Regions from separate parts of the Homo sapiens genome. Here regions 2, 3, 4, 5, 6 and 7 are each linked to region 1. Evidence: promoter capture Hi-C in 16 types of primary human blood cells and fetal thymus (Javierre and others, 2016). All regions are on one chromosome and are shown on one strand. The core of a region is centred on a gene start or on the middle of the fragment in contact, and the rest is flanking DNA. Distances in the headings are between cores, read along the strand shown.

Region 1 (2,908 bases), core at 233-2,732:
TGAGGACTCTTTTAGTCTATACTGACAAAATTATTAATATGCTGTTGATGCCAGACTGTGTTTGTTATAGTTGATTCTCCCATCCAAGTACAAGAAATGTATTGAAATAAAAACTGCTCAGCATATCTTAAAAATAGTAGCTACATATAAAATTTTAGCTACATGAAAGACTTTAATATTTCCAACATACACTGTTTTCTCTTTCTCTTCTTGCATTGTTTTTCAAAACGAGTTGCAAAACTATGATCACTAATGTGTTAGGAAAGAAAAAAAACTAGTTGCAAAACATTACAACTTAGCTCACCTTCGCAGTTCAAGATTATTTTCTTTTTTATGTACTACCTGGTTTATCAGCTTTAACCTACAATATCTCGTCATTGCTTTCTGACACTCAAATTCAGTCTAAAATCAAATCAAGAATTTCCTAACACAAAGGTAAGTTTAGGTATAGGACCGATCTTATACCTTCAAGGGCAGTTTAAAGATTCTGCTAAAAATTAGTATGTATCTCCATCAATATTTTGAAATATTTATAACTGGTGGTAAGAATAGCCTTCCTACATGGGATAGTCAGGTTAAGATTAGAAATAACCAAGCGTATCCTCTAAGATAGTTTTTTAAATGTTTAAACTTACCTTTAAGGGAAATAAGTGGGGGCTGACTCACGGAAAGAGGGGATAGAAGGTAGGGAAAGGGCGAAGGCTAGAGTTAAGTGAAGAATCCCGTACGTAGAGTGACATCATAGAGGACTTTTGGCTGGTGAAAAGACCAGTCGGGAATATAGCCAATATATATCAACCTTGCCACTCATATAACTTAAAACCGACTGCATATGTATCCCCGTATTTCTTCTTCAAAACACTACTAACAAATAATAAATCACCGCCCATATAAGCAATCTGCGACTCTAATACGGGTGCTAATTTATTTGTTCAGGTGGTCTACAAACGTTCTGTTCTGCCTGTCTATTAAATTTCCACACGTACTAGGCGCTCACATGGGATAACCTGATGCTTACAAAGCGGATTAAACTCAGTGGCAAATGTTATCTGGGTATTCGTTTACACACGGAGACACCCCTAAAGGATCGCACCTGCTTGGGTCATAAGAAACAGAAAAATGCAAAAACTAAGGTAATTCCAAAAGACAGAAAACGCAGAACGCTTCTTTATCTGCAGAATGTACCGTTCTCGGACGGCTCAACGTACCAGGCTCCCAGCAACTAAGTCAAGATGCCTCCAACTCGAGAGACAGGACCGTCAGCCACTCAGTTAGCAGCTATCTTCTTCTAATTCCTATTGTACTAGATGAGCGCAATGAGGCGGGCTCTTAGCCGACAACCAACCAATTGAGTATTGTATGGAACCGGAAGAGACTCTGGTCCTGGAATTCTTGGGTATTCTCTATGGTTCCAGGGTCAAGCGGCGCTAAGAGAAGGCGGGACAGAGGAATGGGAAATGACGTGAGGAGTGCGGAGGGGCGCGAGGTTTCAAGATGGCGGTAGCTGAGGGGTTGACCGAGAGACCCAGTTGAAGGCCTTTACGAAGTGAAAGAGGCCGGGAGTCGCCCCCTACCCGCTTCTCGTAGTCCTGGGAGCACAGCAGAAGTGTGAGTGTATTGAATTGATTTACTACTCTTCCTCACCTCTTTCGTCCCTTCCACGTCCCGCGCAGCGGCTTGGGGGACACCCAGCCCCTTTGCCCCGCTCCTCCTCTCCCTGGTTGAGGTCTCCCTGTTGCGGACTGGGCTATTCCTGGGCCTGGGGTGGCGCGGCGACCAGTGGTTGCGCGGTTGGCATCGCCCGGGTCGGTTGGGGCCGCTTCTTACGCACGTTGATTAGTAGCCTTAGGTTTGACGTCTTGTACCTCGAGTCATGGTCGGTCAGCCGTCGCTATGGTTTCGTCAGTTGCTGGTGTTGCCTCCTTTGGTGAACCTGGACCCTATCCCATTGAAGCTTCTTTGGCTGTTTAGAGTTATCCAACGCTTATTTGGCTTGATTTTCCAGTCGCCTCCGCTTGTAGACAAAAAACTAATCTGCAGACTTAAGCTCCAGTGTCTTCCGTAAAATTCTCTGTAATTCGTATCCGTTGTGTTTCATTTGTGGGGGAGGAGATTCAGAACATGAGCCTGAGGAAACTTGAGAAAGGAAAGCACAAAAAACGCAGGCAATCAAAGATGGGAGAGCTTGTATATGTACTGATTTTGCTTGTTTTCCTCCTTCCCTACCTCCTACTCCCTGCTGCTCTCCCACCCCCCTAACCCCCCCATCCCCAGTTTTTCTTAGAAGGAAACCACTTGACAGGGTGTATGGTAGCTAGGCCAGGAATATGGATCCATTATAAAGATTTTAGTTAAGTAGTGAGTCAAACATCACAGGATATTTTATTTGTAATCTCATTGTATCATCAGAGCTTTGTTATAAAGTAATTGATGTCCCCATTTTTTAGATGAGGAAGCTAAAAATCAGAGCCTTTGATACCGCTGTCTTGAAGTAATTGCCACCAGAACAGCTGTGAAACATCTGGCTTTCTGAAACATCTGGCTTTCGGGGCAGTTGGACACTTGGTGAAAGAGACATTAACTGTAATAAACTGGGCTGACAAAATCTTCCCTTTCTTACCTTTAAAAAGTGTCTACTTGCAAAAGGAAGCAAATTTGTCCGCCTTTATTACTGGAAAGACTGCGCTTCAAAAAATTAAGCCCCATTATTTTGGAATAAGAGGAAGAAGTCATGTAATAGGGTACTGTGTTAATAAAAGTTTTAGCTTACAAAATATTTTTTCCTCAAACAAAAATAAGTATTCCCTTTAATTACCTTAAGAAATATATATTGGGAGTCAGGTCTTAGTAAGAAAAATATGTGTCTTAATATTTAAGTTTTGGGGAGCTCTCAGTATAGCACTAATTT
Region 2 (2,908 bases), core at 154-2,653, 420 kb after region 1:
AAATGTTACATTCTTGAGTCAAGAATAGAATGCTATAGAAAAGGAATGAAAATTAAGAACATGATAGAAAAAAATGAAAAACTCAATAGGACTGGATGATAAAGTTGAAGAAACCAACCTTAGCAAAAAGACAAAATTACAAATCAGAAGAAAAGATACAATTGGAGTATCCATCCAAATATTCAAATTGGAATCACACACACACACACAAATACATCACCAATGAAATCATTTAAGAAAACTTTCCAGAGTTGAAGGGCAAGAATTTCCAGACCAAAGAGCCCAAAGCATGCCAGCAGACCATAATAAACAGATCCACACAAGGGCAGGTTCCATTGAAATTCCATAAGACTAAAGACTAATAACCAATTCTACAAGCTTCCACTGAGAGGAGAAATCTGAAATCAGAATGGCTTCAGATTTCTCAGTGGTGATAATAGTAGGAAGAAGATAATGGAGCAGTGTCTTTAAAATTCTGAAGGAAAAGAATTTCAACCTAGAGTTCTATACCCAGCCAAACTATCAATCAAGCATGAAAACATAGAATGACCTTTTTCAAACATGCATTGTCTTTAAAACCTGTATCTCCCATGCACCCTTTCTCAAAAAGCTACTAGAGAATGTGTAGCTTTCTACAGGCAGGGAGAATTCTAAGAATTCTCCTGCCAAGGACAGAATAAATCAATAAAAAGACATAGCATTTGGAAAACAAGGGTCCTAGAAGACAGGTGAAGGAAATCTTCACTGATGGTTGTATTAGTTCATTCTTGCATTGCTATAAAGAAATATTTGAAAATGGGTAATTTATTAAGAAGTTTAATTGGCTCACAATTCTGCTGGCTGTACAGGAAGTACAGTGTATCTGCTCGGGTTCTTGGGGTGGGGGCTCAGGAAATTTACAAACATGATGGAAGGCAAAGGGGGAGCATGCACATCACATGGCAGAGGCAAGAACAAGAGAAAGGTGAGAGGTGCTACACACTATTTAAATGACCAGATCTCACAAGAACTCACTCACTATTGTGGAGGACAGTACCAAGGGGGATGGTGCTAAACAATTCATGAAAAATCCAGCCCATGACCCAATTATCTCCCACGAGGCCCCACCTCCAACATAGAGGATTATGATTTAACATTAGATTTGGGTGGGGATACAAATCCAAACTATATCAATGGTGTACAAAATTCTAAGGATGACAGTTGTGTACGAGATATAGTGAGCAACTAAGCCACACAGGAGCAATGACACTCAAGAACTAAATGTGAGTCAAGATTTTTGCTGCCACCATACCTGAGGAATTGTGTCTTATAAATTAAGTCTTTTAAATAAATATCAAAGATTATTAGTAACTGTACCAAATCGTCTTAACTATTGCTATTTACATGGAAGAGACTCATGGATGCAGGCATCCTGGTATAAAGTTGACATCATGAGTCAACAACTGTCATAACTGTATCAAGGGAATGGGTCATGATTTTCATGATTATGTTGTACAAACCAGTCAATTCTGTGTAAGTAGGCTGCTTAACACAAGATCAAAAAAAGAAGAATTACCTAAGACTAAATGAATGATTTAATTGTGGTTAACATTTTATTTTAAATGGTCATAAGAGAACAATACTTTCATCTCAATCTATCTCTAACCCCCAACTTAAGGTATACTTTATAGAAATAGTAATATCTTTCCCCCTCAGAGATCAGGGAGAAAAATATCCTGTGAAAGGTTTTAATATAGGTTATAAGCTAAAGAAGCCACCAAAAACATTTTATGAATGATTCTGTAGAAAAATACTGAATATAGGGCCGGGCATGGTGACTCACGCCTGTAATCCCAGCACTTTGGGAGGCCGAGGCAGGCAGATCACCTGAGGTCGGGAGTTGGAGACCAGCCTGGCCAACATGGCAAAACTCCATCTCTACTTAAAATACAAAAATTAGCTGGGCGTGGTGGCATGTGCCTGTAATACCAGCCACTCGGAAGGCTGATGCAGGAGAATCGCTTGAACCCTGAAGGCAGAGGTTGCAGTGAGCCAAGATCATGCCACCGCACTCCAGCCTGGGCGACAGAGCAAGATTCCATTTCAAAAAAAAAAAAAAAGAAAAAGAAAAATACTGAATATATTGTTCAGTCTTGTCCAGAAACTGCTTAGACCAATGATTAAATACTGTATAAAGTATCATAACTCAATCTTTTTACTTTTTATGACTCAGTTTACACAGTTTCCATAAGAATCTGTTCTCCTGCCTACCAGGATAAAATTGGGTAAGTCAGACCAGGCACGGTGGCTTATGCCTGTAATCCCAGCACTTTGGGAGGCTGAGGCAGGTGGATCACCTGAGGTGATCCTCTTGAGGTCAGGAGCTCGAGACCAGCCTGACCAACATGGTGAAACCCTGTCTCTACTAAAAATAGAAAAATAAGCTTGGTGTGGTGGTGGGTGCCTGTAATCCCAGCTACTCAGGAGGCTGAGGCAGGAGAATCACTTGAACTCAGAAGGCAGAGACTGGAGTGAGCCGAGATCACGCCATTGCACTCCAACGTGGGTGACAGAGCGAGACTCTGTCAAAAAAAAAAAGAAAGAAAGAAAGGCCGGGCGCGGTGGCTCACGAGGTCAGGAGATCGAGACCATCCTGGCTAACACAGTGAAACCCCGTCTCTACTAAAAATACAAACAATTAGCCGGGCATGGTGGCTGGTGCCTGTAGTCCCAGCTACTCGGGAGGCTGAGGCAGGAGAATGGCGTGAACCTGGGAGGCGGAGCTTGCAATGAGCAGAGATCTTGCCACTGCATTCCAGCCTGGGCGACACAGCAAGACAACGTCTCAAAAAAAAAAAAAAAATTGGATAAATCAAATTTGTAACCGTAACCACACTGGAAATGTGAAATTTAAAAATGAATTTCGGGC
Region 3 (2,908 bases), core at 204-2,703, 410 kb before region 1:
TTAAAACATAGCCATCTTCTGTTACAACCATGCTACTGAAACTGCTTTTGCTAAGGTCACTACCAAACAATGACCAACACATCTAATGATCATTTTCCAGTTCTGATCTTCTTAGACTTCTTTCTATCATCACACAGCTGCTTATTCTTTCCTGAAATTCCTTCCTTCCCAGGCTCCCATGACATCACACTCTTTGGCTTTGCTGCTCTCTCTCCGTAGCTCCTAACTAGCTGTTTTCATGGGTTTGCTCTTCGTCTGCGCACTTCTCAAAGTTGAAGCTTCCAGGGTTCTATATATCATCCTCTTGCGTCCTTACTCCATACACTGCCCCTAGAAGTGCTACTCACACCCAAAGCTGAAGATAACACCTGCACAGAGAGATCAAATTCTGCTGACCTGAATTTTATTTTATGTAAAATGCACAGGTTGAAATTGCTCACTAAGTTTCTTTCCAACTCTAACATTCAAATCTTCTTTGGACTGTTTTCTCTATTTGCCTTGAATACATTCCACCATTTGTGTTTGTTTTCATTTAGGTGAAAATGACAATGACAGACTACATATCTTTAACAATTGCCTTTTTGTCTGTCATCTATAAACAGACAGTGTTTTCCTATGTCAACATTAAATTATTTTTCTGAGACCTGTAACTGCACCTCACATTTTAAAAGTAGCACTCGTTTGATGCATGGGTGAAAATTGTGAAACCTTTTTCCATAGTTCAGTGAAAACGACCACAAACTACTTCATATCTACCAATTTTATTTTAAGACACTGGGTCTCCCTCTGTCGCTCAGGCTGGAGTGCAGTGGCATGATCATAGCTCACTGCAGCCACCAACTCCTGGGCTCAAGAGATCCTCCCACCTTGATCTCCCCAGTAACTAGGACTACGAGTGTGTCCTACCACACCTGGCTCATATGCAACAATTTTGAAAATAGACTGCAACAATATTGAATTTATGTTGATTCTGATTCTTTGTGAATATGGCTATTTGATGTCTCTGCCTCATCATTGTATCACACATTTATCTTTCTACTGCAGAGACTTTATCAGTCTTATAGGTAACTTTTGCTTGTTTAAGTCTGCAAGAAATTATACCTGCTGGAATGTAATTCGGTAGCTCCTCACTGAATTGTTTCAGAGGCTTAAGTCTTACCTGTCCCCTCTACTTTCCCCACACTTAATACCAGTAGGAATTGGGGGTAAATAAGACCATATTGCCCATTTGCTAACGAGGAGTCGTATAGCTTGGAGTTAAAGAGTGTGAGCTTTTGTTTGCCCTGTGAACTTGGCAACTTTGGCAAGTTACTTAACCAGTCGATTTCTTCAACTATGAAGAACATATAATAGCATCTCAGTTGTTACTAGGATTGAATGAGTTGTTACATGCAAGTGTTCCTGGCACATTGCAAATGCTCAAAATTAGCTTATATTATTATAATTTGTTAAGGTATGCTTTTTTAATTTGTAAGTTCCACAGTGAAAACATACAATTAAAGATATACTTGCATTCAAGTGAGTATTTTGGTTTTCACTAAGTCAGACAGCTTATAAGGTAAAAACTCCACACACGCGCACACACACACACACACACACACACACACACACACACACACATACTTTCTCTGTTTTTCTCTTTCTTGAACCTAAAATCTGGTTAATGTCAATTATAGCTTGACCACAGATGATCATAACAATACTTCGTATGGCTTATATTTAATCTTGTAAAAAGCCAGAAATATATTAGTGTCACCAATAAATTAACACTTTTAAATTTGAAAGTGCTTCTGGTATGTGGCAGATGGCTTCCTAAGCCCAGGTGATAGATAGGCCGTCTATATTTAAAACAGAATTTAACATTTACCAGAACTTTTTCATTGACAGTTTGACCACAGACATGTCAGCAAAGGCAAAAATTTAATAATGTGCTGATTACTAAGGAGCACTGATAAAACATGTGAGGGATGTGTGTATGTGCACGCACATGTGTGTAATATATAAGTGTTTACATGGTCTGCTGTATTGGGGGAATTCTTGTTCCTTCTAAGTTTATCTTGCAGTTCTGTCTTCAAGTGAGCTTGCTGGCATAGGGATAGTACAGTGAACTCTGTGGGGACGCTGCAAAGTGTAGGGTCATGATTTCCCAGCCCTTTCTATCTTTTCTTGCCCCAGCCGGGTAAACATTTACTTTCATTGGCTAAGGGTGAAGCACTAATAATGTGGCATGCAAGGCACAGATTTCCTTACTTGTGTGCATCAGCCTATATTTTGACAAGCTCCAAGTAATTAAAGTGATAAGACTTGCCAATAAGCCTAGAATGCACACATTTTTATTTAAATGCTTCTTGTAGTCGTATTATTCAGATTTGTAGTAAGTGTGGGAGGGGGCTGATAGAGAAACAACTGAAATTGTAAATTTAGCTTCACAGTTGACATTCTCATTTTAGAACTGAAATATTGTGTGCCACAGCTAACTATATTGCTTGAAAGGGCTAGTCTTAAAGTTAATTGAGTAATGCTATCCTGTAATTCAAAAGCCAATTGGTGCACTCATCCATGAAGGCTTAAGTTCATAGACTCAGATTGCCAAGCTATAAACTGGATGCCAAACACAAACAAGCTTGTGATATTTTTTTCCGTGGCACAAAGAGAAGTGATTTTTCATCCTATTTTTTGTTCTTTTTCTTGTCTGCTTTTTTCTCTGTCAATTATAAAGAAGTTTTTAAAAGCTTTTTTCATCTTATTTTTAAGTGGGACAGGGACTATTCTAATTTTAAATGTGACTTTTAAGATAACCGTCAAAACCTGCTTTAAAATATATGTATACTTCAGGCTGAGATATATTTATGAGATCTCACATATATATAATAAAAAAACAGAAACCTCAGTCGCATCTTGGGTAGGT
Region 4 (2,908 bases), core at 172-2,671, 410 kb after region 1:
CAGAAGCAACAACTTTCAATTAAGTCAAGTTTCTAAAAAAAAAGAAACAAGAAAAAAAGGAGGGAAAAAATAAGAAAATTAAAAAAAATCAGCAAAGCTGAAAAAATATACAAGTTTTCCAATAATAAAGGTCTATTGAATCCCAAAACAAACTAAATTAAAATAAGCAAAATAAAATTTTTTGACACCTAGGCATACTGCAATAAGATTTCAGAAAATCATTATAGGGAAATATTAATAACTTAGAATATCATTTAACTACAGAAGAGAAAGAATTAAACTGGCATCAGACTTGTCATCAGCAATACTGAAAGCTAAAAAAAAAACAATATCCTCAAAATTCATGGGAAAAGTTATTTTCACTGTGGAATTCTACAGCTAGCAAAGCTAGCAGTCAGCAAGAGTGAGGAAATAAATATATTACTTCTGAGCAAAGACAGAGAATGCAGACCTTTGCTAAAATGATTATATATAAATATAAGTACAAGACCAGACAGCAGAAGAACCTATGAAGAAATTCAGATAAGGAAATTAGCAAAGCTCCAAAAAACAAGTAAAACTCTTGAGCAGGCTGAAATAACTGAGGATCAATCATCTTTAAAATAAATATGTTATTTATCCAGATAATTGCAATGTGTAAGTTAACTAACAGGTTGCAGAATATGGGGCAAAAATAAAGAAAATTATCAATCAGGGAAAAACCTGATGGGTTTCAAGCGTGTAAAACAACAAAAATATCATTAGCTATGCACTATAAACGAGACATACCTTAGAGTAACAGCATAGAAAGGTTGAAACAGAAGGATAGAAAATGATACGCTAGGCAAATAGTACCACAAAAAAGGGTAGGTATACATATAAAACCTATATATGACATATAAAAAAGAATTCAAGTTGAAAATCAAGTAATAGAACAAAAAAAAGAGATATGTCCTATTGATAAAACAAGTTTAAATAATTCAGGAAAAAACTAATAAATTCACAATCAGAAATAAATCTATGGATGAAGAACACAAAAGTAATAAGCAATGAACAACCCATTAGCATGTCAGAATAACAAAAATAAATAGAACTGTATACCCAATAAACCCAAAATATAATTTTTTTCACAAATACAGCCAATGTACATCAATATTGACCATGTGTATGGCGACAAGAAAATCTTAACAAACTCAAAGACAAAAAAAAAAAACCACAAGGCTATATTCTGTAGTCATAATGTAATAAATATACCAACAAGATGACAGAAAAATTATCTCCTTATAAATAAAAAAAAAAACTTTTAGATGTAGGAGGAAATCAGTGATAAAATACCAACGAAGTATTAAAAGAATACAACCTAGGGAAATCAGCTAAAATGATATTCAGATTAAAACTGATAGCCTTAAATGCATATATTAACAAAAAACACAAACTCAAAAACATTAATAAAGGCAAAAAGGTATAATCCCAAAGCATGGAATTACAATAAAAGCAGAAAATTATGAAAGAAAACAAATGAGCAAGCAATTAAGGAACCAAAAGCCAGTTCTTTAAAAACACTATTAAAACAGAAAAAAACCTTGCAAGGAAGACAGACACAAAGCATAGTAAATATAACGAACAACATGAGAAATTATTAAGAAAACATAATAACGTAACAATTGTTTCAAATATTAAAGTATGTTAAAGTTTATCAATGAATATTAGGGAAAGACTGAGGTATTTTAACTTAATGCAAACTCAAAAAATCATCTCAAGGTGGCTGCCAAAAATGCTAATGCAAAGTTAAACTGTAGAACAAATAGCCAAGGAGAAGGGGAAAATTTTTAGAGTAATTATGTTTGGTTCTGAGCATCACAGATAAAGAAGGACTTATTAATAACTGTGGGATGACCATGCTAAAGAATGCTCTGGAACAGTAAGTTGTATGAGGAAATGTCAGGAAAAAATAAAAGATATTGATATTTAGCCTAGAAAACATAAGAAAATTTTAATGAGCTTTCTTTAAATAGTACATATTTGTCATGTAAAAGAGATACAAGAGAAAGAGAGCTACAGACAGACAGAAAGTGGGGGGCTATGAGAAGCAAAAATAAAAGTAATGAAAGGCAACTTCATCTCAAAATCAACAAATGTTAATTTGTTTGGATGCCCAATAAAAGAAGAAACTGATTTATGAAAATAGAGACTCTCCCTTCTGTCATTAGAAATAGTGAAGTATAAACTAGATAATTATCTGTCAGGAATATCAAACAGTAGGTTCCTGTGCAAAGTGCAATATTAGAAACTACCTGACCACTTAGGTTCATTTCATTTTGAAGATTTTGAGATTCTACATTGCTTGCTAAATACATTTTCTTTCTTAAAAGGAACACAAACACTTTTTAGGAACTCAAAGATTTTTATACTCCAAATTTTGGATCATTCACACTCAACTTCAATAGCCTCAAAGACTATATACCTTTATCCTCATTGTTTTTTTGGTGTTTTGTTTTTTTGTTTGTTTTTGGTTTTCTTTTTTAGAGACGGAGTTTCGCTCTTGTTGCCCAAGCTGGAGTGCAATGGTGCGATCTTGGCTTACTGCAACCTCCGCCTCCCGGATTCAAGCAATTCTCCTGCCTCAGCCTCCCAAGTAGCTGGAATGACAGGCGTGCGCCACCACATCTGGCTAATTTTTTGTATTTTTAGTAGAAACGGGGTTTCACCATGTTAGTCAGGCTGGTCTCGAACTCCTGACCTCAGGTGATTCACCTGCCTCGGCCTCCCAAAGTGCTGGGATTACAGGCGTGAGCCACCACGCCTGTAATCATACTCATGACTTTTATCTTTGTTTTGATTGTCTATGTACAAAATATACCTCTGTCCTACTATCCCTCATCTTTCTTTGCTATGACCTCCAACTCTAACAGCATTCAATAAATTCCTG
Region 5 (2,908 bases), core at 160-2,659, 390 kb before region 1:
GGGAAAAGAATGATTAAGACAAGGTGTCAATTTCCAGCATGTTTATGCCAGCCTTGTAATAAGCTGACAGTGTTAATTATCTCAGTTCAGGAAGCTGAAGCCACAGTCATTTCTTCAGTCAGAAGAGATGGTAAAGTGAAATGATTTTTCTTTCCTTTTCCATAGAGCTGCATCCATACTGTTAAACAGGGATGGGCAATGTGCTCACTCCTACGTATCTATAGATATTACCTGACTGCTTTCTCATTTGACTTAACATGAATCCAGTTCAACAAATTGTTGACCAGGCAGAGCTTACCCATGGAAACTTGAAGAGGAATAGAAATGCCTTTCTCAGATTTTAAATGGCCTGAAAGAGGGAGAGAAGTCATTGAATCATACTCTTTAGGCAGTCAAAGTTCCCACACCTAGCTTTGGGGTATTGTTTTGGATGGGGCACATATGCAAACCATTGAGCATTATGCTGGACACCTATGTCCCTTCCACGTATGTTTGTCCATATGGCTTGAAAAACTTTCCCAAGACACACAAAAGCAGCTGGTGGAGTGGCTTTTCACCTTAAGTTATTCATGCATTTGATTTAAGTCATGAATTGGAGATATTAATAGGGAGCAGGATGAGAACCAAAGCTGTGAGCCTTCCAGGAAGGTGGGTGGCATATTAGCAATGTAATTATTATTAGTGATGCAACTTCTAGGTATCTGCATGTCTCAGTTTGGTGCCATATGGCAGCAGTTACTGATTTCCTCCCATCCTTTGACCGCAGTTCAATTTGAGACGAATAGATGCTGAATGGATTTGGGTAATTAACTAAACCAACAGAATACAACACACACATGCACACACACACACACACACACACACACACACACACACACACACACACACAGCCAAGCTTGCTGTGCCTTAAGAAGTTAAGTGGAAATTTTCCATGGGAAGTTATGGAACTGGAATACATAATCTTTTGTGGAATAGGGTGAAGGCCACCTACTTAGCAAGAGGAAAATGAGTGGGCAAGAAAGCAAAGATTAACAATGGCCTCTCTGTTGCTCCAACTCTTCGTTCCCTAATCAGGCACCCTTGGCATTCTGAGCAGTGCCACTTGTGTGAGAGGTGGAAAGGGGAGGCAGGATGGTCTTATAGGGTTTGTATGTCATTCCATTTGTGACAGCTTGGGCTCATCCCAGTCGTTTTGGACCTTACCCAAGGCAGTATTCCTGGAGGCATTTTGGAAATCTCCTCAACTCTGCCATCATATCTCGTGGGCTATCTAGAATCTTCCCATGTCAGCAGTTATTTATTCATTAGCCATGACTATAATGATGTTCAGAAGGGCTTTATTCAAGCCACTTTGCAAGCATTAATTTGACAAGCTCTCTAGCTTTCTGGGTAGTAGATTAAACCTTTCCACAAAGTGTTTGCTGGAAGGTAATGTATATAGACATTTAGAAAACAAAACAAATGGAAAAAAACTATCAATTTTTGATGGCTATAAAGGACTGAATCCTTGGCATCAGTTACCATGTGCCATCTGGCAGCCTGGAAATTGGTCTTATAGAGATAGTGGATATTGACGTGGTTGTGGAAATTGCACCTAGAGAACCCATTGCCCCGTGTAAGATTTCCTCTGTGAATTTCATTAAGTTCTCAGTGGTCAGACACATTCAGCCCAACATCCTGCAGCAACCAGAGGGTGAAAAATGGACACAGCAAGAGATCCTGCTGTTGTTAACCAATAAAGCAAAATAGAACTCCTTTCTTGGCATCTGAACGCTGAACATCATGTTAAGCATTCTTGGAAGAGATGGGCTCCAAGATTTTAAGCAACACCAAGGCTCTATATACAGTGTATGAATCTGAGATGATGGAATGGCAGGAAGAGTGTGGCATTCATAATAGAGATTTCATTGAACACCAAGCTTTTTTTTTTTAGGGAGATCGGGCTCCTTCTTCCTCTTCTTTGTTTTTTAAGTTAAAAACATTCAGTCTAATAAAACTGATTTTCAAAAGCACATGTTCTGAGGGGAGAGTGTATATATTTTGAGAACCGAGGAGTAGCAGACAATATGTGAGAGAATAGGAAAAGAGTGTTTCAAGAGGCCATTCAGTGACTTCTGAATGATCATTCACGATTATACTTAAATATGTCTTGCCTTTGCTCCCTAACAGCAAGGCCTGGAATGTGCTGTTGAAGGAAACCAGTGTTTGTTATTTAGAGCGCAGCCTGAACCCTGCAAAAGTTTTTCATGCAAACATAGATGTCCCCCAGCTGCGCACTCTCTCCTTTTCACCTGTCAGCATATGATTTAGCACAATCCCCTGAAGGTTCTCAAAACAGGGAAATAATCTTAAATTCTTGCACAGAGTTCATGAGTCATTGTTTTGATTGTTCTTGTAAAGGTACTTACTTTTTTTTCCTGCTGTCAATGTGAAATCTCACATTCAAATCCTTTTGGAGGGAGGGATGGGAAAGTAAGAATAAAAAGAAGCAAGCCTCTTTTCACCAATTTGCTCCTTTCTATAGGATTAATAATAACCTGAATCGTTTACCTACCACTGAAACTTAGGAAATAACACATCCAGGGGAAATGATAGCCAAAGCGTTCTAAGGCAGATTTCTCTCATTTGCAATTATACTTGTACTTTCTCTTACTTACAATATTTTTCCATCCAAACCAGACCCAGAGTGAAAATACCAGATGATCAGGAATATCTTCCAGCTCTAAGTACAGCACTCTTGTTCCTATATTATATGGTCATGTGTTCATTATTATATTGTGGACCCATAAAAGTTTCTAAAGCTGTCATCTTGAGTTTATCTTTCTTTGAGGGAACCAAAAGTGAGACAGAGAGCCCCAGTGTGGGCAGCATGGGATGAGTGTAGAGTTAAAGCCATCACAGTGTTCTC
Region 6 (2,908 bases), core at 131-2,630, 390 kb after region 1:
CATAATATTTGACACTTTCACAAATTAACCCCTCTGCCTGTCACCGACCAAAATGTGGAATGCAATATCCCCAAACTAAATTGTAAAAAATAACCAACCACAAAGGAAACTGGGAGTTTGCTTTACCAACAATTCCCTAGACAAGGTTACCAACAATTCCCCAGACAAGGCAGGAGTAAATCATGTCCTTAAAAGTTTGGTTACATCAAAGCCAGAACTGTCACTACAATCTAACTTCTTGTTGCATTCAGTGCTATGTTTTCAGAAATTTTGGAATGGTCCACATGATAAAAACATAAGATACCTTAAAATTACTTCTCCAAGTCAATTTTTGGGATCATTGTGTTACATGGGCAAAATAAAATTAAATGACCTGATCCAACAAATGCCATTTTAGAATACATAGAGCAAATTACACCCCCTTAGAAAATTGGCCAATTTTCCATCAAGGCCCTACTCACTAGCTTGCCAAACTCTACTATCCCTATGCAGATAAGGAGTGAAGTTACAGAAGGTCTTGTATTTATCTCCACAGGCATTTAAGAAATCATTTGTCCAGAGCTGGGCGCAGTGGCACATACTTGTAATCTCAGCTACTTGGGAGGCTGAGGCAGTGGACTGCTTGAGCCTAAAGGGTAGAGACCAACCTGGGCAGCACAGCAAGACCAGGTCTCATTAAAAAAATAAATAAATAACCAGCAGTAGAAATCATTTGTCCAAACGTACTTTTCACATTTTGCTTGGGTGAAGTAAAACACCCAGAATGAGGTATGAGGAGCTGAAAGATGTAAATCCTTCAAATGCCTGGAAATAACTCTTACTTTTCTTATTAACCCAACCTAAAGAGAAAAGCTGGACAGCTAACTTTCTGTGTCAGTCACCTTTTACTAGATGATAATGCAGCAACAACAATAAAATTTCACTGGCTAATAACTGTATACTTTTTCATTATTCTAGGACACCAGGCTGAAGGAACAGCACCCCCTCACCCCATCTAGGCCTTGTGGCAGAGGTAAAAGACCAATATGACAGAGATATACAGTATACAATAGCTTTTAGCTAGGGTGTCCAAACTTTTGGCTTCTCTAGGCCACAATGAAAGAACTGTCTTGGGTCACACATAAAATACGTTAACGATAGCAGATGAGCTGAAAAACAAAATTTCATAATGTTTTAAGAAAGTTTACAAATTTGTGTTTGGCTACATTCAAAACAGCCCTGGGCTCTATGCAGCCTGTGGGCCCTCGGCAGGACAAGCTTATTTTAAAGCTTTTGCTTAGACATGGTGTACATTACTTTCATTCACATTCCATTGGCTAAAACCAAATTAAGTCACTAAGGGCATGGGAAGTAAAAAACCTCCCAAGGGGAAACACCTCATGTCACATGGCAAAAGGTAGGGACATATAATCCTCTTGCTGTAAAGAAGTATAATTATAAAATATCATGCAAACTATCACACTTTAAAATACACATATTCTAAAAAGCTTGGCATAACAAAAAGACTTCTGAACTAACAAAACTAGGTTCTATTCCATGTTCTAACATTAGTATACAACCACCATAGAATAAATCAATTTAACTCTCTGGAGTTCAGTTTCCTCAACTGTAAAACTGAAGAAGTTAGGGCAGATGCTTGCTAAGTTCCATTCTAGCTCAAGTTTTAGCTATACTGACACATATAATTTTTTATTATGAAATAAAAATAAAGTGCCCTGTACAACACAACAGCTTACTCCTTCTTCTCCATTCTTGACTCCTAAATGCAAAGATAAGCATAATCTTGAATTTGATGTTTATTATTCCCAACCATGCCTTATAAATTCTGCCTTTTATTAACACCTTGAAAAAAAACCCTTTTATTACACACCTTGAAAGGAGAAAAAGAAACTGATGCTTATCGAGGAATAATATATGTGAGTCACTATAACAAAACATATCCTTTTCTCATTAGTTTATGTGATAATTTATATTAATTTCAACTTTACATATGATGTGAATTAATAAATCAATAATTATATTACTATCAATAATTACACAAATAGTAATTTTAACTTGGTAAGGTAAAGCAGACACCCAATTCAGTACCAAGTTGTTTTCTTCAGCACAGGAACCCTTCTTATGCATTTCATCATTTAAGTTTTGGTACCATTTTAATAGAATGTTCAGCAATTGTCTTCTTTATCTCTTTGAAAATGGAGATGCCATTTAAGATCACTGGTAATACCTATCTACTCAGTAAATGAGACCTGAGAGTAGACTCCCTCCCCAATTTCACCAGCCTGCTGACTGCTTCATGTATTAGCTACAAGAGTATTACCAGCAGCTTTCTAAGTATTAAATTATCTCATCCTTAATTTAACATAGCAATTAAGAGCAGAATTCACTCAACCAACTAAGAATAGAAGAGGATTTCCTCAACCTGATAAAGGGCACCAAGGAAAAACCCACAGCTATCATACTTAATGGTCAAAGACTGAAATCTTTCACCCTAAGATCAGAACAAAAGATATCTGCCCTCACCATTTCTAGTCAGCATTGAACTAGAAGTTCTAGCCAGGAGAATTAGGCAAGAAAATGAAATAAAAGTCAAACAACTTTTTGTTTGTTTTTTGAGACATGGTCCCTCTCTGTCACCCAGGCTGCAGTGCACTGGCACAATCTCAGATCACTGTAGCCTCCGCCTCCTGGGTTCAAGTGATTCTCATGCCTCAGCCTCCTGAGTAGCTAGAATTACAGGTGTGAACCACCAAGCCTGGCTAATTTTTGTATTTTTAGTAGAGACGGGGTTTCACCATGTTGGCCAGGCTGGTCTCAAACTGCCAAGCTCAGGTGATCCACCTGCCTCGGCCACCCAAAGTGCTGGGATTACAGGCATGAGCCACCACACCCAGCCACAAGTCATACA
Region 7 (2,908 bases), core at 200-2,699, 320 kb before region 1:
CATAGTAAGTTTTCATTATTATATGAATGTTGTACTGTTGTAGAGTATATATTAAATATCAAGGGTCTTTATAGGGTATGTTACTAGGATTATAGACAAAATTCAAAAGGCATTCATGATGTGAAGGTTATGAGTAATATTCCTTGAAGCACTTTTAATTGGAGCAGAAATTCTTTTCCTAACCAAAAAAAAATCTGTCCTGGCCATTTTAAACACTTTTAGTTACATTTTTCCAATGCAATCAACTCACCACAGTCCCATAAATACATAATACTTTTTCCAGCTGGAAAAAAAATTTCCAGCATTTTTCCATAATAAATACTTATTGTTGTATGCTACAAAGTTTTGGAGCGGATTTGTTATATAGCAATAGCTGTATGCCTGGGGACCTATAGAAAAGAACAATCACAACTGTGTAGGAGGTTACATATGCTTAAGTATCTTAGAAAAAAATTGCATTATATACATTGTTAATCAAGTTACTTCATGAATTCTATAAAGAAAAGTAATGACATATTTTTCAAGTATGATACTGAAAGGTAGCATTTGAAAGTTTTGCCTGAATCTCTCTTGAATATGACTCTTAAATAAGGAATAGCATGTGTGTTAGTTTACATTTACCTTGAAGAGTTCATTTCTTGCTGAAGCTGATTTATTGTACAGATCATACCTAATTAATTTTCATTTTAAAATATTATTCTGAAACTAAATCTGGCACTCCTGATGCCTGCTTCTTCTTGATAATGATGTCAGGAATTATTTTGAGTAACCAGCATAGATTGGTTAATTTTTAGAAATAACGTGACTATTTTAATGTAGTGGTTTTACCTTTTAGCTCTTACTTATGAATGGAATATCATGCCACTGAATGATTACATTAAGTGACTTTTAAAAATATTTTATTGGATTAAATGTTTCTTTACCAAATTTTCCATTTTGTTAGAAACCAATTTTCATTAATAATCATAAAATTCATACTACCAGTAATACTAAAACAGAACCACAGATGATGAAGAATTAGCCAAGTAGGTTGTAAATTAGGCAAAAGGAGGAAAACAGTCTTCCCTACATTAGCCATTGGACATGTTTGGCTTGTTTAATGGAAAGGCAGGGGTTGTTCAGGCAATGGGAAGAAAATAAAATATTTCAGAAGGCAGAGACTCAACAGTAACTACTAATCAAATATGTCAAACCTTAAAACTTCTGGAGCAACAAGGCCTTAAATCAATACCACCATTTTACTTCAAAAGACAAACTTTGCTCAAGATAGTTGGGATGGAGAGGGAAGGGAGTCAAAAGGAAATTAGGTCAATCTTTATAGTACCCATTTTCATTAATTATAGTTAAATTAGATTATTAATGTATTAATAATGTAATAAACTTAAAAATTAATAAGTTTTAATATTTATTATATAAATTTAATAAATTATACAACTGGGATAAAATTTTATTATTTAAATTTAATAAATTAACTATTTTGAATATATATTTATTATTTAAATTTAATACATTAAACAACTGTTTTGAATATATATATATTTATATAATAATATATATAACTTTTTTGAGTTTTTGAGCATTCATACACATATATATGCTCAAAAACTCTAGCACTCTAGAGTTCTTTTGCCTCTTCCACTCTACAGCTTCAGAAAGTATTGCTGCATAACTGCACAGGCACTAACCAAGGTTCTTAACTGACATCCAGGCATTTACAAATGATTCAATTATGTTCAGTATACTTGGTTTTGAAAGCTGATGGACTGTCTAATACATTTTTTAAATATTTTGAGAAATGATTCAAATTTAAATGGTTTTGGAATTGAAGAACTGTAAACTTCGCTCATGTAAAAAATTAAGCTCATTTTTTCATCATGGCAGATAATTAAGTTTTCTAGGTTGCAGCCTTTAGTGTTAAAACTACATAGTCTGGCCGGGCGCGGTGGCTCACGCCTGTAATTCCAGCACTTTGGGAGGCCGAGGTGGGCAGATCACGAGGTCAGGAGATTGAGACCACCCTGGCCAACATGGTGAAATCCCGTCTCTACTAAAAATACAAAAATTAGCTTGGTGTGGTGGCACGCGCCTGCAATCCCAGCTACTCGGGAGGCTGTGGCAGGAGAATTGCTTGAACCCGAAAGGTGGAGATTGCAGTGAGCCGAGATCATACCACTGCACTCCAGCCTGGGCAACAGAGGGAGAGTGTCAAAAAAACGAAAACAAAAAACAAAAAAAAAAACAACTACGTAGTCTAACAAAAGATGGAACTCTTTAAATCGTGCAAGCTGTTAGGTGTTTATTAATGTTGCTAATTGTACAAAAGAAAAAATATGTTTACTGCTTACTGCTTCCTGTATGTAAAAATAAAAGTTTCAGTCTCAAGAGAATGACAATGACAGACTCTGAAGACTGCAGATAAAACCACAAGTACAGTCACTGTGGGAAGTATTACAGGGTCAGTGGCCTTGCTACTTTAGGCACTGCAAATATTTTGGCTCGAATTCAGCCTCACACTCTGTAATTACAAAGAACATTGGTAGTTTCCATCTCCGGCCCCTGGTCAAGAAGCCACGTTGTGCTCTGTTTTGCGAAGTCCTCATGCAATTTACACTGCCATCTCCCATATAAAACTGTACAGGAGGAAGGTTATACCTCTGTTTTTCCTAAAAGTGAGACTAGGCAAAGACTGACAGTGACCTTCCACTAACTAGTTTTATTTCTTCAAGGAGTATCCTTTGGCTGCTACATTCAGGGCATTTCAGTAAAAATAAAAATACACATTATAATGGGTATTTTAAAACTGTAAAATATGATAGACAATGAATCTTTCATTAAGGTCAGTGGGATCCCTGGGAGGCCATCAGGGGTCTATGGAGGGCTCATGAGCCTGCTAAATTATATGCCAAAT

The links. The method cuts DNA at HindIII sites, captures the fragments that hold promoters and counts their contacts. A CHiCAGO score of 5 or more calls a contact.
Region 2: a fragment that was not itself captured here is called in contact with the fragment with the promoter of WBP11 in region 1 in 3 of 17 cell types (naive CD8 T cells, fetal thymus and neutrophils); the score reaches 6.3 in naive CD8 T cells.
Region 3: a fragment that was not itself captured here is called in contact with the fragment with the promoter of WBP11 in region 1 in 1 of 17 cell types (megakaryocytes); the score reaches 5.2 in megakaryocytes.
Region 4: a contact is called between a fragment that was not itself captured here and the fragment with the promoter of WBP11 in region 1, in 2 of 17 cell types (naive CD8 T cells and activated CD4 T cells). The highest score is 5.6, in naive CD8 T cells.
Region 5: a contact is called between a fragment that was not itself captured here and the fragment with the promoter of WBP11 in region 1, in 1 of 17 cell types (fetal thymus). The highest score is 5.7, in fetal thymus.
Region 6: a fragment that was not itself captured here is called in contact with the fragment with the promoter of WBP11 in region 1 in 2 of 17 cell types (total CD8 T cells and naive CD8 T cells); the score reaches 7.5 in total CD8 T cells.
Region 7: a fragment that was not itself captured here is called in contact with the fragment with the promoter of WBP11 in region 1 in 1 of 17 cell types (megakaryocytes); the score reaches 6.9 in megakaryocytes.

Annotation. Positions count from the first base shown.
Region 1 is chr12:14,802,052-14,804,959 of GRCh38, reverse strand. It overlaps WBP11 (WW domain binding protein 11), which reads left to right and starts at 1,482. Exons shown (of 12, transcript NM_016312.3): 1 at 1,482-1,608. It overlaps C12orf60 (chromosome 12 open reading frame 60), which reads right to left and starts at 1,290. Exons shown (of 2, transcript NM_175874.4): 1 at 1,209-1,290. SMCO3 (single-pass membrane protein with coiled-coil domains 3) reads left to right here. Exons shown (of 2, transcript NM_001013698.2): 2 at 1-310. RefSeq lists an enhancer at 947-1,186. The HindIII fragment of the contact is 2,157 bases long and covers 1-1,956 here.
Region 2 is chr12:14,377,292-14,380,199 of GRCh38, reverse strand. All of the region lies in intron 1 of ATF7IP (activating transcription factor 7 interacting protein), which reads right to left. Among named protein-coding and RNA genes, the nearest start is that of ATF7IP, 13 kb to the right of the region's middle. The HindIII fragment of the contact is 2,045 bases long and covers 381-2,425 here.
Region 3 is chr12:15,212,709-15,215,616 of GRCh38, reverse strand. All of the region lies in intron 2 of RERG (RAS like estrogen regulated growth inhibitor), which reads left to right. Among named protein-coding and RNA genes, the nearest start is that of RERG, 7.3 kb to the left of the region's middle. The HindIII fragment of the contact is 2,345 bases long and covers 281-2,625 here.
Region 4 is chr12:14,396,759-14,399,666 of GRCh38, reverse strand. All of the region lies in intron 1 of ATF7IP (activating transcription factor 7 interacting protein), which reads right to left. Among named protein-coding and RNA genes, the nearest start is that of ATF7IP, 33 kb to the right of the region's middle. The HindIII fragment of the contact is 6,932 bases long and covers 1-2,908 here.
Region 5 is chr12:15,193,533-15,196,440 of GRCh38, reverse strand. The region is part of intron 2 of RERG (RAS like estrogen regulated growth inhibitor); the gene reads left to right. Among named protein-coding and RNA genes, the nearest start is that of RERG, 26 kb to the left of the region's middle. The HindIII fragment of the contact is 1,024 bases long and covers 898-1,921 here.
Region 6 is chr12:14,412,720-14,415,627 of GRCh38, reverse strand. All of the region lies in intron 1 of ATF7IP (activating transcription factor 7 interacting protein), which reads right to left. Among named protein-coding and RNA genes, the nearest start is that of ATF7IP, 48 kb to the right of the region's middle. The HindIII fragment of the contact is 218 bases long and covers 1,272-1,489 here.
Region 7 is chr12:15,122,120-15,125,027 of GRCh38, reverse strand. The region is part of intron 2 of RERG (RAS like estrogen regulated growth inhibitor); the gene reads left to right. Among named protein-coding and RNA genes, the nearest start is that of RERG-IT1, 9.0 kb to the right of the region's middle. The HindIII fragment of the contact is 3,565 bases long and covers 1-2,908 here.